Linked DNA regions of Homo sapiens: regions 1, 2 and 4 are each linked to region 3. Evidence: promoter capture Hi-C in 16 types of primary human blood cells and fetal thymus (Javierre and others, 2016). All regions are on one chromosome and are shown on one strand. Each heading gives the region's core, a stretch centred on a gene start or on the middle of the fragment in contact. The rest is flanking DNA. Distances are from core to core; before and after follow the strand shown. Region 1 has its middle 15 kb from the start of SIGLEC10. Region 2 has its middle 12 kb from the start of C19orf84. Region 3 holds the start of FPR1 (formyl peptide receptor 1). Region 4 holds the start of IGLON5 (IgLON family member 5).

Region 1 (2,700 bases), core at 115-2,614, 320 kb before region 3:
TTCTAGGCTTAACTTTCGGAGAGAATTCCAAAGAGTTTTCCACAGGGTCACACCATTTTACATGCAGTGCAAAGGGGCTCCCACTTGTCCATATTCTTGCAAACAATTAGTATTTTTTTTTCTTTTGAGACGGAGTCTCAATCTCTCGCCAGGCTGGAGTGCAGTGGCACCATCTCGGCTCACTGCAACCTCCACCTCCTTGGCTCAAGCAATCCTCCCACCTCAGCCTCCCGAGTAGTTGGGACCACAGGTGCTCACTGCCACGCCCGGCTAATTTTTGTATTTTTTGTAGAGATGAGGTCTCACCATGTTGCCCAGGCTGGTCTTGAACTCCTGACCTCAAGCAATTCTTCCTCTTTGGCCTCCCAAAGTGTTAGGATTATAGGCGTGAGCCACTGTGCCCAGCTTATGCTTTATATTTTAAGAGTTCTAGTGACAGTGCAGTGGCATCTTATGTTTAATTTTTAAAAATTTACTTAAAGTTAGATATGGTTGAATTCATTCTTTATCATATGTAATTTTATGTGGGTTGACCGATGCATATAGTTATATACACAACCGCTGTGAAGACAATGAAAAGTGTCATTACCTGAACATTTCCTCCCTCTGCTGACTCTAGGTAGTCAATCCTCCCTCTACACTTAGTCCCTGAGAAAACACGGATCTATTCTCCATCCCTGCCATTTTGCCTTTTTATAGAATGTCATATAAATGGAATCATACAAAATGTATCCTCTAAAATCTGGCTTCATTTACTTGGCATAATGCTTTTGAGGCTCATCTATGGGGCTGGGTATAAATCTGTCATTTTAGTTTAATTGTTGACTGGTGCTCCATTGTTTTCATGGTCTCTCATTTTGCATGTATTTGCCATTTGCGGAGCATTGCAACTGTTTTCAGGTTCTGGTGACTCTAAAATAATGTTGCTATAAACATTCCATTCAACTTTCTGCGTGTGAACATAAGTTTTTAATTCCCTTGAGTAAAAACCTAGGAGTCGAGTGCTTGGTCAGACGTACACTTGGTCAAGTGTAAGTTTAAATTTATACAAAATTGACAAACTATTCTCCAAAGTGTATATACCATTTTGTATTCCTACCAGCAGTAGACATGAGCTCTGATCACTTCACATCCTTGCTAGCATGTGATATCATCCACATATTTTAAAATTTCTTGTTACCTTTGTTGTACTTTTCAGTCATTTTTCTTAGGTATGTAATTCTACCTCATTCTTCTTCTATTCTACAATTACCTAATGACAAATTATATTGAGGCTATTTTCACGGCCTTGTTCGCCATCTGCTTTTCTTTTTTGGTGAGGTGGCTATGAAATCTTCAGTAGCTTTTTTCTTAATTGTGGTAAAATATACAGAAGAAAAAAATTACCGTTTTAACTATTTTTCAGTGTTTAGAGAAGTTGCACCAAGTACACTCACGTTGTTATGAATCACTATGATTTATCTCCAGAAGTTTCTTCACCTTCCCAAACTGAAACTGCATCAAAGAGGTGAAAACCCCCTATTTCTTTCTGATCACAGCCCCTGGCAAGCATGGCTCTACTTTCCGTGTCTGTGAATTTGCCTCCTCTACACACCTCATATAAGTGGAATCATACAGTGTTTGTCCTGCTGTGACTGACTTAGAATATATTTAAGGTTCATCCACGCTGCATCATGTGCTAGCTTCTCCTTCTTTTTTTTTTTTTTTTTTTTTTTTGTTGTTGTTTGAGACGGAGTTTCACTCTTGTCGCCCAGGCTGGAGTGTGATGGCGTGATCTCAGCTCACTGCAACCTCCACCTCCCAGGTTCAAACAATTCTCCTGCCTCAGCCTCCTGAGTAGCTGGGATTACAGGCACCTGCCACCAGGCCCGGCTAATTTTTTTTTTTTTTTTTTTTTGAGACAGAGTTTCGCTCTTGTTGCCCAGGCTGGAGTCCAGTGGCGTCATCTTGGCTCACTGCAACCTCCACCTCCCAGGTTCAAGCAATTCTCCTGCTTCAGCCTCCCGAGTAGCTGGGATCACAGGTACGTGCCACCACACCTGGCTAATTTTGTATTTTTAGTAGAGATAGGGTTTCACCATGTTGGTCAGGCTGCTCTCAAATGCCTGACCTCAGGTGATCCACCCGCCTCGGCCTCCCAAAGTGCTGGGATTACAGGCGTGAGCCACCGTGCCCGGCCTGTATTTTCTTTTCTTTTTTTTTTTTTTTTTAGTAGAGATGGGGTTTCACCATATTGGCCAGGCTGGTCTCGAACTCCTGACCTCAGGTGATCCACCTGCCTCGGCCTCCCAAAGTGCTGGGATTACAGGTGTGAGCCACCATGCCTGTCTCCTTGGTTTTTTTGTTTGTTTTGTTTTTTGTTTTCTTTTTCTTTTTCTTTTTTTTTGAGATAGGGTCTTGCTCTGTTGCCCAGGCTGCAGTGCAGTGGCATGATTGGGCTCACTGAAACCTCTGCCTCCCAGGTTCAAGCGATTCTGCTGCCTCAGTCTCCCGAGTACCTGGGATTACAGGCACATGTCATCATGCCTGGCTAATTTTTATATTTTTAGCAGAGATGGGGTTTCATCATGTGGGCCAGGCTGGTCTAGAACTCCTGACTTCAAGTGATATGCCCACCTCGGCCTCCCAAAGTGCTGGGATTACAGGCGTGAGCCACCATGCCCCAGCCCAGCTTCTCCTTCTATTTTAAGGCTGAGTAAT
Region 2 (2,700 bases), core at 193-2,692, 350 kb before region 3:
AAAGTTTGCACAAAAGGAAAGTTCGGTCCATATTGAGTAATGGCTTACTTAAATTCCTTTAATAACTTAAAAGGAAAAGTGGCCCAATTAGTTATATTCTGTCCTCCTTGCTGGATTATAGTAACTGGAAATTGCCATGCTTCAAGGTCTTCCTCAGTTCTAGCTTTTTTTTTTTTTTTTTTTAACAGAGTCTCGCTCTGTTGCTCAGGCTACAGTCCAGTGGTGCGATCTCGGCTCATTGCAACCTCTGCCTCCCGGGTTCAAGCGATTCTCCTGCCTCAGCCTCCCGAATAGCTGGGACTACAGGCGCACACCACCACGCCCGGCTAATTTTTGTGTGTCTTTAGTAGAGATGGGGTTTCACCGTGTTAGCCAGGATGGTCTTGATCTCCTGACCTCGTGATCCGCCCACCTCGGCCTCCCAAAGTGCTGGGATTACAGGCGTGAGCCACTGCGCCCGGCTTGCTCTAGCTTTTTGAATAGAATTTTGCATAGCACCACCAATTGCTCCAGGTTTTAATGTTGCAACTACAGGAGCAGAAAATTTTATAGCTAATTCACTTTCTCGCCCATTAAGGGGAAAGGGAGGAGGTGGCCATTCACTTAATTCAGCAGGTAGAGCCGATGGGCTAGTAAAATATACTTTTTTCGGTTTCCCCTTTTTTAACCTCTTCTCTTTTTTGCTCCTTGCATTCAGAATCTGAAGTTAGTTTTTTACACTCGTCCTCCTCTTCCTCATCTGAATCTCCCTCATCATCTGTTTGAAAGGGCTCAAGGGCTGCCTTTATTAGTGCCCACATTGACCAAACGGAAACTGGAATTTTTGCTCCCTCTTTATACGCCTTTTTAAAATCTCTGCCAGTTCTCTCCCATTCATCCAACTCCATAGTCCCTTGTTCTGGAAACCATGGGCAAAACTGCTTTACTGTACTAAAGAGTGATAACAAATTTTGAGTACTAACTTTCACTGCCCCTTTTTGTAATAAATGCCTTAAGAAATTCAGATAAGCAGAATGTTCGCTTTCACTTTGTCTGATTGTTACCCTGGTTCTTCTGAGCACTCAGCTTTCCCACCGAGCTTCTTTCAGTCATCCTCGGGTGTCCTCTGATGATACTTCCTCCACTTTCATGTCCTCTAGCGTTCCTTCACCGGGATCTTCATTGTCCCATGTTGGGCGCCAGGAATGCTGGGGTGATCAGACCCAGCACCAGGCCATGGGGGCTACAAAGTCTGGCAGAGTCAAAGGAATGAGAAAAGACAAGTTAAAAGTGCATAAGGTGGGTCCAGGGGTCCAACACTAGTATGGAGGCTGCGAAGGCCCCGAGCTCTGGAAGCCCGTACTGTTTATTGGTGATCAAACAAAGAGGCAGGTGGTGAGGATGTGGGGGTTGAAAGAAAGCACTGCATCAAGTGCATGATTTACAGCTGTGACAGTTTAGCATTTTCTTTGAAGCATATGGAACATTTTCTGCTACTTGAGATAATGGGAAACATGTTCTTCTAGTTTAAGATACAATTGATCTATGAGCCTGGGAATGCTAGAAACAAGGAGCCGGCAAGTCTAGACACATTCCAGAGGCCATGAGGGGTTCCATGCTCTGAGCCCTGGATTCCATCCAAGCCACGAGGGGTTTTATGCCCTGGGCTTAGATTATGGTGCCACAGGGCAGCCTTCCACCCTTTAGCACAGAGCTTGGTGTTCCAAAGGCCATGAGAGGTTTTAGACCCTGGACCCCAGACATGTTCCAAGACTCTTTTACATTATGTCAGACATGCAAGCCCTGCCTCAGCTTTTTTCCCAACACTCAGCTTTTCCCCAATACCTGACCTCAGGTGATCCACCCACCTTGGCCTCCCAAAGTGCTGGGATTACGGGCGTGAGCCACCGTGCCCAGCCAGCTAATTTCTTCCTGAGTAATCTTTATTTCTTTTTAAATCACTCCTCATCTGTAGCTTTTGTGTTAGTGTCCGATTCTGATTATACCATTTCGCTGATGGATTTGATGGCTGCTTAAATGGAATATTCCAGTGTTTAAAGAGTTCTTTATGTACTTTTCCAGGTGGCATAAAATGACACTCCAAGAGTCTTTCACCAAACAGGTAGTTGTTCATTGTTTCAGCAACTATCTTGGCAACATCCTCAGACTCAAACTCCACAAATGCATAGCCTTTGCCATTTCCAGTCATTTTACTTCTGGACAGTCTGAACTGTGTCACAGTGCCAAACTGGGAGAAATATGAAAAGATCTGGGTTTCGTTAAGTAGGGTTGTTCTTGTTTTTTTTGCTGGGTTATGTGCTTGCAAACCTGCGCCACCTCCTTTTGAAACTGGACATCTTCCTGCGGGTTAAGCAGTGAGATCTCAGCCAGGCCAGAAAAAGCTGCCATGCCAAAAGCGGCCGACACTAACTCCACGCGGTGCTCCTGGAAACGTCGGGCTCCCAGCTCCCATGAGGCAGAAAACGGGCATCTATTCTTTTAACATACGTATGTATACACAGTCCAAGTGATGGAACATCAGGATCAGTGGCAGCTGGGAGGGTGGGGGAGGCAGCACCACCTGATATTTAGGAGGGAGAATGACCGGGAGTTGCCGATACGTGGAGTGAGGGATAAGTCAGAGTTGTTCCTAAGATTTTGAGTTTGGGCAATGGTGGCATGGTAAGCTAAGATCAAGGATATGAAGGGAAGAAGGGCTTT
Region 3 (2,700 bases), core at 191-2,690:
ACTTGACACTTTGAAATTACATATGTGTCTCACATTTCTAATGAACTTTGATACTCTACAATCTCAGAAACAACTCAGAGATGTCTCCCTCCCCTACCACCCATCCAACCACCAAAATACCCTGAGGACTCTTTGTCCTCAAGAATCTCTAAGGCAACCAGTTCAGAAGATTGTTGCAATGAATGATGAGGATTCTGCAATAATGAGCTGGAACATACCAGAGAGGAAAACCTGTGCAATTTTGTCCAATTATGGTTCAAGGGAAAAATCCTGTGATTTGCAATGAACACAGGCCTTGGTGGCTGCCATCGATGAAGGACTTTATGCTTGATAATCATTGTACCACATCCTCAACTTTCTTGCCTCTGATCTCAACAAACTCAGCATTGATTATACATCATCATCCCTGTGTGACGGAAGAGGAAACTAGGAGCTTGATGAGAAATGACAGCCAATGTCTGCAGATTCATGAGAGGGCAGGGCTGTATTCCGCTACTGGGTCCTATGCACCATGCAGAACCAGTGTCTTCACGTGGAGACTCATCACTGATCCGAAAGGTGACTGCTTCTGTATTACACTCATTTCCCCATGACCCATCATAAAGTCGTTAGGGCTCTTTTGCTTTCTCCTGAAAGCTTCAAACCAAACATCCTTTCCCATCCCGACTCAAGCCCTCAAGCTGATGCCCTTGCCTCTTGCTCCACCAGATTCTCCTCCTGCTGGCTCCTGCATCACTGTTCTCTGCCCTCATCTCTGTAACCAGAAAACAAGTGTTTCCATCCAAGAATTACCCTCTACTGGTCCCATAAAACTCATTCCCCCATTTACTCAAGAACTTCCCTCCTTCACTTATCCCTTCTCTCTCCTGCAGCCTCATAGTGTCTCTATATTCCATCATTCCCATCAGGACCCCAATAAAGTCTAGAGCCTATTTGTTTATTTATTTATTTACTTATTTATTTGAGATGGAGTCTCACTCTGTCACCTAGGCTGGAGTACAGTGGTGCAATCTGAGCTCACTGCAACCTCCACCTCCCAGATTCAAGCAATTCTCCTGCCTCAGCCTCCCAAGTAGCTTGAATTACAGACGCCCACCACCACGCCTGGCTAATTTTTGTATTTTTAATAGAAGTGAGGTTTCAACATGTTGGCCAGGCTGGTCTCGAACTCCTGACCTCAAGTTATCCACCTGCCTTGGCCTCCCAAAGTGCTGGGATTACAAGCATGAGTCACCGTGCCCGGCCTGTTTAGAACCTCTTTAAAAAAATTATTCTTCAACTCCACATCCTTCTTCAAACAAAGAGTCTATTGTGTTCACCAGTGTATTAAGTGTGTCTATGTCAAGCTACCCAGTCCCCCAGAATATGTTTCTTACCTGGACTGTTCACCAGCTGTGGTCTTGCTCTGGGTAGTTCTAGGTCTGGGTCTCCTGGGGAGAGTGACTCAGGCTCTAATGATTGCAGCAAAACATACACCAAGGAACAGGAGGAGGGGTAAAGGAACTAAAACCAGCTGGGTAGCAGGAAATAGGAAGTCTGAGCTTCTTCTGATTTTTGATGGCCCCAAGAATACACCAATATACTGTCTGCTTTAATGGCATTAGGACAGTGGGCTGGGCCTGTTTAGAAACTCATGTACCTGACTGTATTTCTCAGCCTCAGTCTCTGTGGGATGCAGAGGTTCAGTGCTCTCAACAACAAGGGCCAAGAAATCCAAGTGTCCGGGCCCCTGCTCCCTCCAAGGGTCAAGGTAAAGAAAGCAGCAAGCACTGTGGTGAGAAGAATCAGAGGGAGGCAATGAAAGGAAGAGAAGAAGTCATGAGGGATGGAGACCAGAAACACAGAGAGAGGTAAGGGAGTGGGGGAAGTTGAGACAGTTGGCAGGACAGCGCGTCCACACCCATGCACACCACCAAGATTAACCCCATAATCCTCTGATCTTGTGGAAGCTCATTTGTAGTCTTCTAGCCCAAAGAAATAACCGTTTTTCTGAAATGTTAAGCATCCTTCCAAGGGTATCAGAGTGATATGGAGAAATATGGTAAGACAGTTACAGAATCAGAGATAACGACACTGATTCTAAAAGCATTATTACCAAGGCATTGTTGCATTAAGACTGTTTTTTCTTTTCTTTTAGAGACAGTATCCTGCTACGTTGCCCAGGCATGTCTCAGACCCCTGGGTTTAGTGATCCTCCTGCCTCAGCCTCCCCAAATGCTGGGATTACAGGCATGAGCCGGGCTGTTTTTAATTCTAAGTAATTTATAATTTACAATTACACCTAACAATGGCTTCAACAAGGGGTGTCCAATCTTTTGCCTTCCCTGGGCCACACTGGAAGAAGAAGAATTGTCTTGGGCCACACATAAAATACACTAACACTAACGATACCTGATGAGCTAAAAAAAAAAAAAAAAAAAAAAATCCCCCAAAAATCTGATAATGTTTTAAGAAAGTTTATGAATTTGTGTTGGGCTGCATTCAAAGCCATCTTAGGCCATGGGCTGGACAAGCTTAGCTTAGAACCAAGACGAAATTTATGGTTTACTTTACAAGAATTTTGCAAGAGGGTAATACTAGGTTAGGTTATATCTGGAAAATATCATCAAGAACTACATTCATTTTAATCTTTTCTCTTTTTTATCCCTAATATGGTGACTTTTTTTCCTGGGGATTGCCACTTCATGGCTCCAAGAAAGC
Region 4 (2,700 bases), core at 130-2,629, 440 kb before region 3:
CCCTTCCCATTGCCTTATTATACTGGGGATGAGGGTTGGGGTGGAGGAAAAAAGCAAATTTCACTCCAAAAGTCAGTGTTTTCGTTATCCATGAAAATAGATGGAAAAGCTGAACTGTGGCCCACAGGAAGAGGGGCCTGGGGGCCTGGCCTCCTGGGTCTGAGGGAGGAGGGGGCTGGGGGCCTGGACTCCTGGGTCTGAGGGAGGAGGGGCTGGGGGCCTGGACTCCTGGGTCTGAGGGAGGAGGGGCTGGGGGCCTGGACTCCAGGGTCTGAGGGAGGAGGGGCTGGGGGCCTGGACTCCAGGGTCTGAGGGAGGAGGGACTGGGGACCTGGACTCCTGGGTCTGAGGGAGGAGGGGCTGGGGGCCTGGACTCCTAGGTCTGAGGGAGGAGGAACTGGGGACCTGGACTCCTGGGCCTGAGGGAGGAGGGGCTGGGGACCTGGACTCCTGGCTCTGAGGGAGGAGGGGCTGGGGGCCTGGACTCCAGGGTCTGAGGGAGGAGGAGCTGGGGGCCTGGACTCCTGGGTCTGAGGGAGGAGGGGCTGGGGGCCTGGACTCCTGGGTCTGAGGGACGAGGGGCTGGGGGCCTGGGCTCCAGGGTCTGAGGGAGGAGGGGCTGGGGGCCTGGACTCCTGGGTCTGAGGGAGGAGGGGCTGGGGGCCTGGACTCCTGGGTCTGAGGGAGGAGGGGCTGGGGGCCTGGGCTCCAGGGTCTGAGGGAGGAGGGGCTGGGGGCCTGGACTCCTGGGTCTGAGGGAGGAGGGGCTGGGGGCCTGGACTCCTGGGTCTGAGGGAGGAGGGGCTGGGGGCCTGGGCTCCAGGGTCTGAGGGAGGAGGGGCTGGGGGCCTGGACTCCTGGGTCTGAGGGAGGAGGGGCTGGGGGCCTGGGCTCCAGGGTCTGAGAGAGGAGGGGCTGGGCCTGGACTCCTGGGTCTGAGGGAGGAGGGGCTGGGGGCCTGGACTCCTGGGCTGAGGGAGGAGGGGCTGGGGGCCTGGACTCCTGGGTCTGAGGGAGGAGGGGCTGGGGGCCTGGACTCCTGGGTCTGAGGGAGGAGGGGCTGGGGGCCTGGACTCCAGGGTCTGAGGGAGGAGGGGCTGGGGACCTGGGCTCCTGGGTCTGAGAGAGGAGGGACTGGGGCTAGTCTCCTAGGTCCATGGGAGGATGAGATTGGGACTTGAAGGAGGAGGGAGCTGGGTTTTAGGAAGTATCCCAGACTCCGTGTTCTGCGGATGTGGTGGAAAGACGTGGGGACGCCTGGGGCGGGAGGGGTAGGGGCCGGGCCGCAGTAACAAAGGCCTCTCCCTCCAACAAGCAACCCCCCCTTGACCCCGCCTCCCCGGCCCCCCACCTCTCCTGATTGGCCGGTCTCCCTGCCCGTCAGCGCCGCCCCCCTCCCCGGGTCTGCAGCAGCTCCAGCCGCCTCGTCGCGCCCCCCCAGCCCCCTCCCCCCGCCCCCGCCGCCCCCCGGGCCGGTGCAGCGCAGGCGGGGTCCCCCTCCCCCTCCCCCCTCTCCCCCCAGGCCTCGCGCGCCCCGGACCGGCCCCCCCTTTCCCCTCCCCCTCCGCGCCGCCTCTGCCGCGATGCCCCCCCCTGCGCCCGGGGCCCGGCTCCGGCTTCTCGCCGCCGCCGCCCTGGCCGGCTTGGCCGTCATCAGCCGAGGTACCGCAGCGCCGGGGGCGGGGGGCTCGGCCGGGACGCCAGGGTCTTGGGTGGGTAATCGGGGGATCAGGGGTGGGGGTCGAGGGCTGCATCCCTGGGCCGGCGCGGGGAGGCCCCGGGACGCCGGGGTCTGGGCCCGGGGGTGGGGTCTGCATTCCCTGGCTGGGCAGGGGGACCTCGGACGTGGGGGTCCGCGCCCCGGGGCAGGGGTCGGCGTCCTCGGGCCGGAGCCGGGTCTAGGGGCGGAGGTCTGCTTCCCCGAGCAGGCAAGAGGGTCGCAGACACCTAGCCCTGCCTGGGGGCAGGAGTCTGCGGCTCCTGTTGAGGAGGGGGCAGACACTGGACTCGGGGTCCCCGGGTCGGATCTCCGAACTGAGTTGGGGTGGGGGGCAGGGGATAATGCCCTGTTAGGGGTCTTCATCTGTACGTGGAGAGGGTCCCTGAAGAGGTCCTTGCCGGGGGCTGGGGTAGTCATCTCGGGACAGAGGTCAGGGGATGGATGCCTTCCCAGGGTCAGTAAGAGGAGGGGACAAGGGTGTCCACAGACCTAGTCCCAGGGTCAGGAAAAGAGGGGAAGGGTCTGAAATCCCCCAGCAGGGTCATCTAGGTTGAGAGAAAGTGTTGGTACTTGGGGAGGTTGCAGTTATGTGGGGGAGAAGGGAGCTGGAGATACAGGAAGTTGGGGTGCTGGGCTGGGGTCTTGGATTCCCAAGCTCTGATTGAATGTCTAGGTTCGTGGGGCTGGACAGTGGAAGAGCGATGGGCATGGGAGGATGAAGGAAAGACGGAAGGGAAGGGTTAAAGCAGGTTGAAGGGTTAACCCCGGCCCGGCCCGGCCCTCCCAGTTGGGGAGAGGGCCAGGGGCAGGTTTCTGCACTGAGGTTAGATAGCTGGACCTTGAGTCTCCCCAGTAGGGCCTGGCAGGCAGGGGGTGGTCAAGGAGATTCCTAGATTTCCCCCTAAGAAAAGGGAGGAGAGTGCAAGGAGGCAGGAGGCTGGAGGGTGGGCGCTCAGGAGGGCAGGGAGCTGGGTTAATTC

The links. Contacts are between HindIII fragments. The CHiCAGO score rates a contact against its expected background, and 5 or more counts as called.
Region 1: a contact is called between a fragment that was not itself captured here and the fragment with the promoter of FPR1 in region 3, in 1 of 17 cell types (monocytes). The highest score is 5.4, in monocytes.
Region 2: a contact is called between a fragment that was not itself captured here and the fragment with the promoter of FPR1 in region 3, in 1 of 17 cell types (neutrophils). The highest score is 5.2, in neutrophils.
Region 4: the fragment with the promoter of IGLON5 here is called in contact with the fragment with the promoter of FPR1 in region 3 in 5 of 17 cell types (naive B cells, total B cells, activated CD4 T cells and 2 more); the score reaches 7.3 in naive B cells.

What each region holds. Positions count from the first base shown.
Region 1 is chr19:51,431,748-51,434,447 of GRCh38, forward strand. No RefSeq gene overlaps it. Among named protein-coding and RNA genes, the nearest start is that of SIGLEC10, 15 kb to the left of the region's middle. The HindIII fragment of the contact is 7,506 bases long and covers 1-2,700 here.
Region 2 is chr19:51,401,139-51,403,838 of GRCh38, forward strand. It overlaps the pseudogene NIFKP6. Among named protein-coding and RNA genes, the nearest start is that of C19orf84, 12 kb to the left of the region's middle. The HindIII fragment of the contact is 6,389 bases long and covers 1-2,700 here.
Region 3 is chr19:51,750,438-51,753,137 of GRCh38, forward strand. FPR1 (formyl peptide receptor 1) reads right to left here and starts at 1,441. Exons shown (of 2, transcript NM_002029.4): 1 at 1,377-1,441. The HindIII fragment of the contact is 1,877 bases long and covers 635-2,511 here.
Region 4 is chr19:51,310,265-51,312,964 of GRCh38, forward strand. It overlaps IGLON5 (IgLON family member 5), which reads left to right and starts at 1,380. Exons shown (of 8, transcript NM_001101372.3): 1 at 1,380-1,662. The coding sequence starts at 1,584. The HindIII fragment of the contact is 5,776 bases long and covers 1-2,700 here.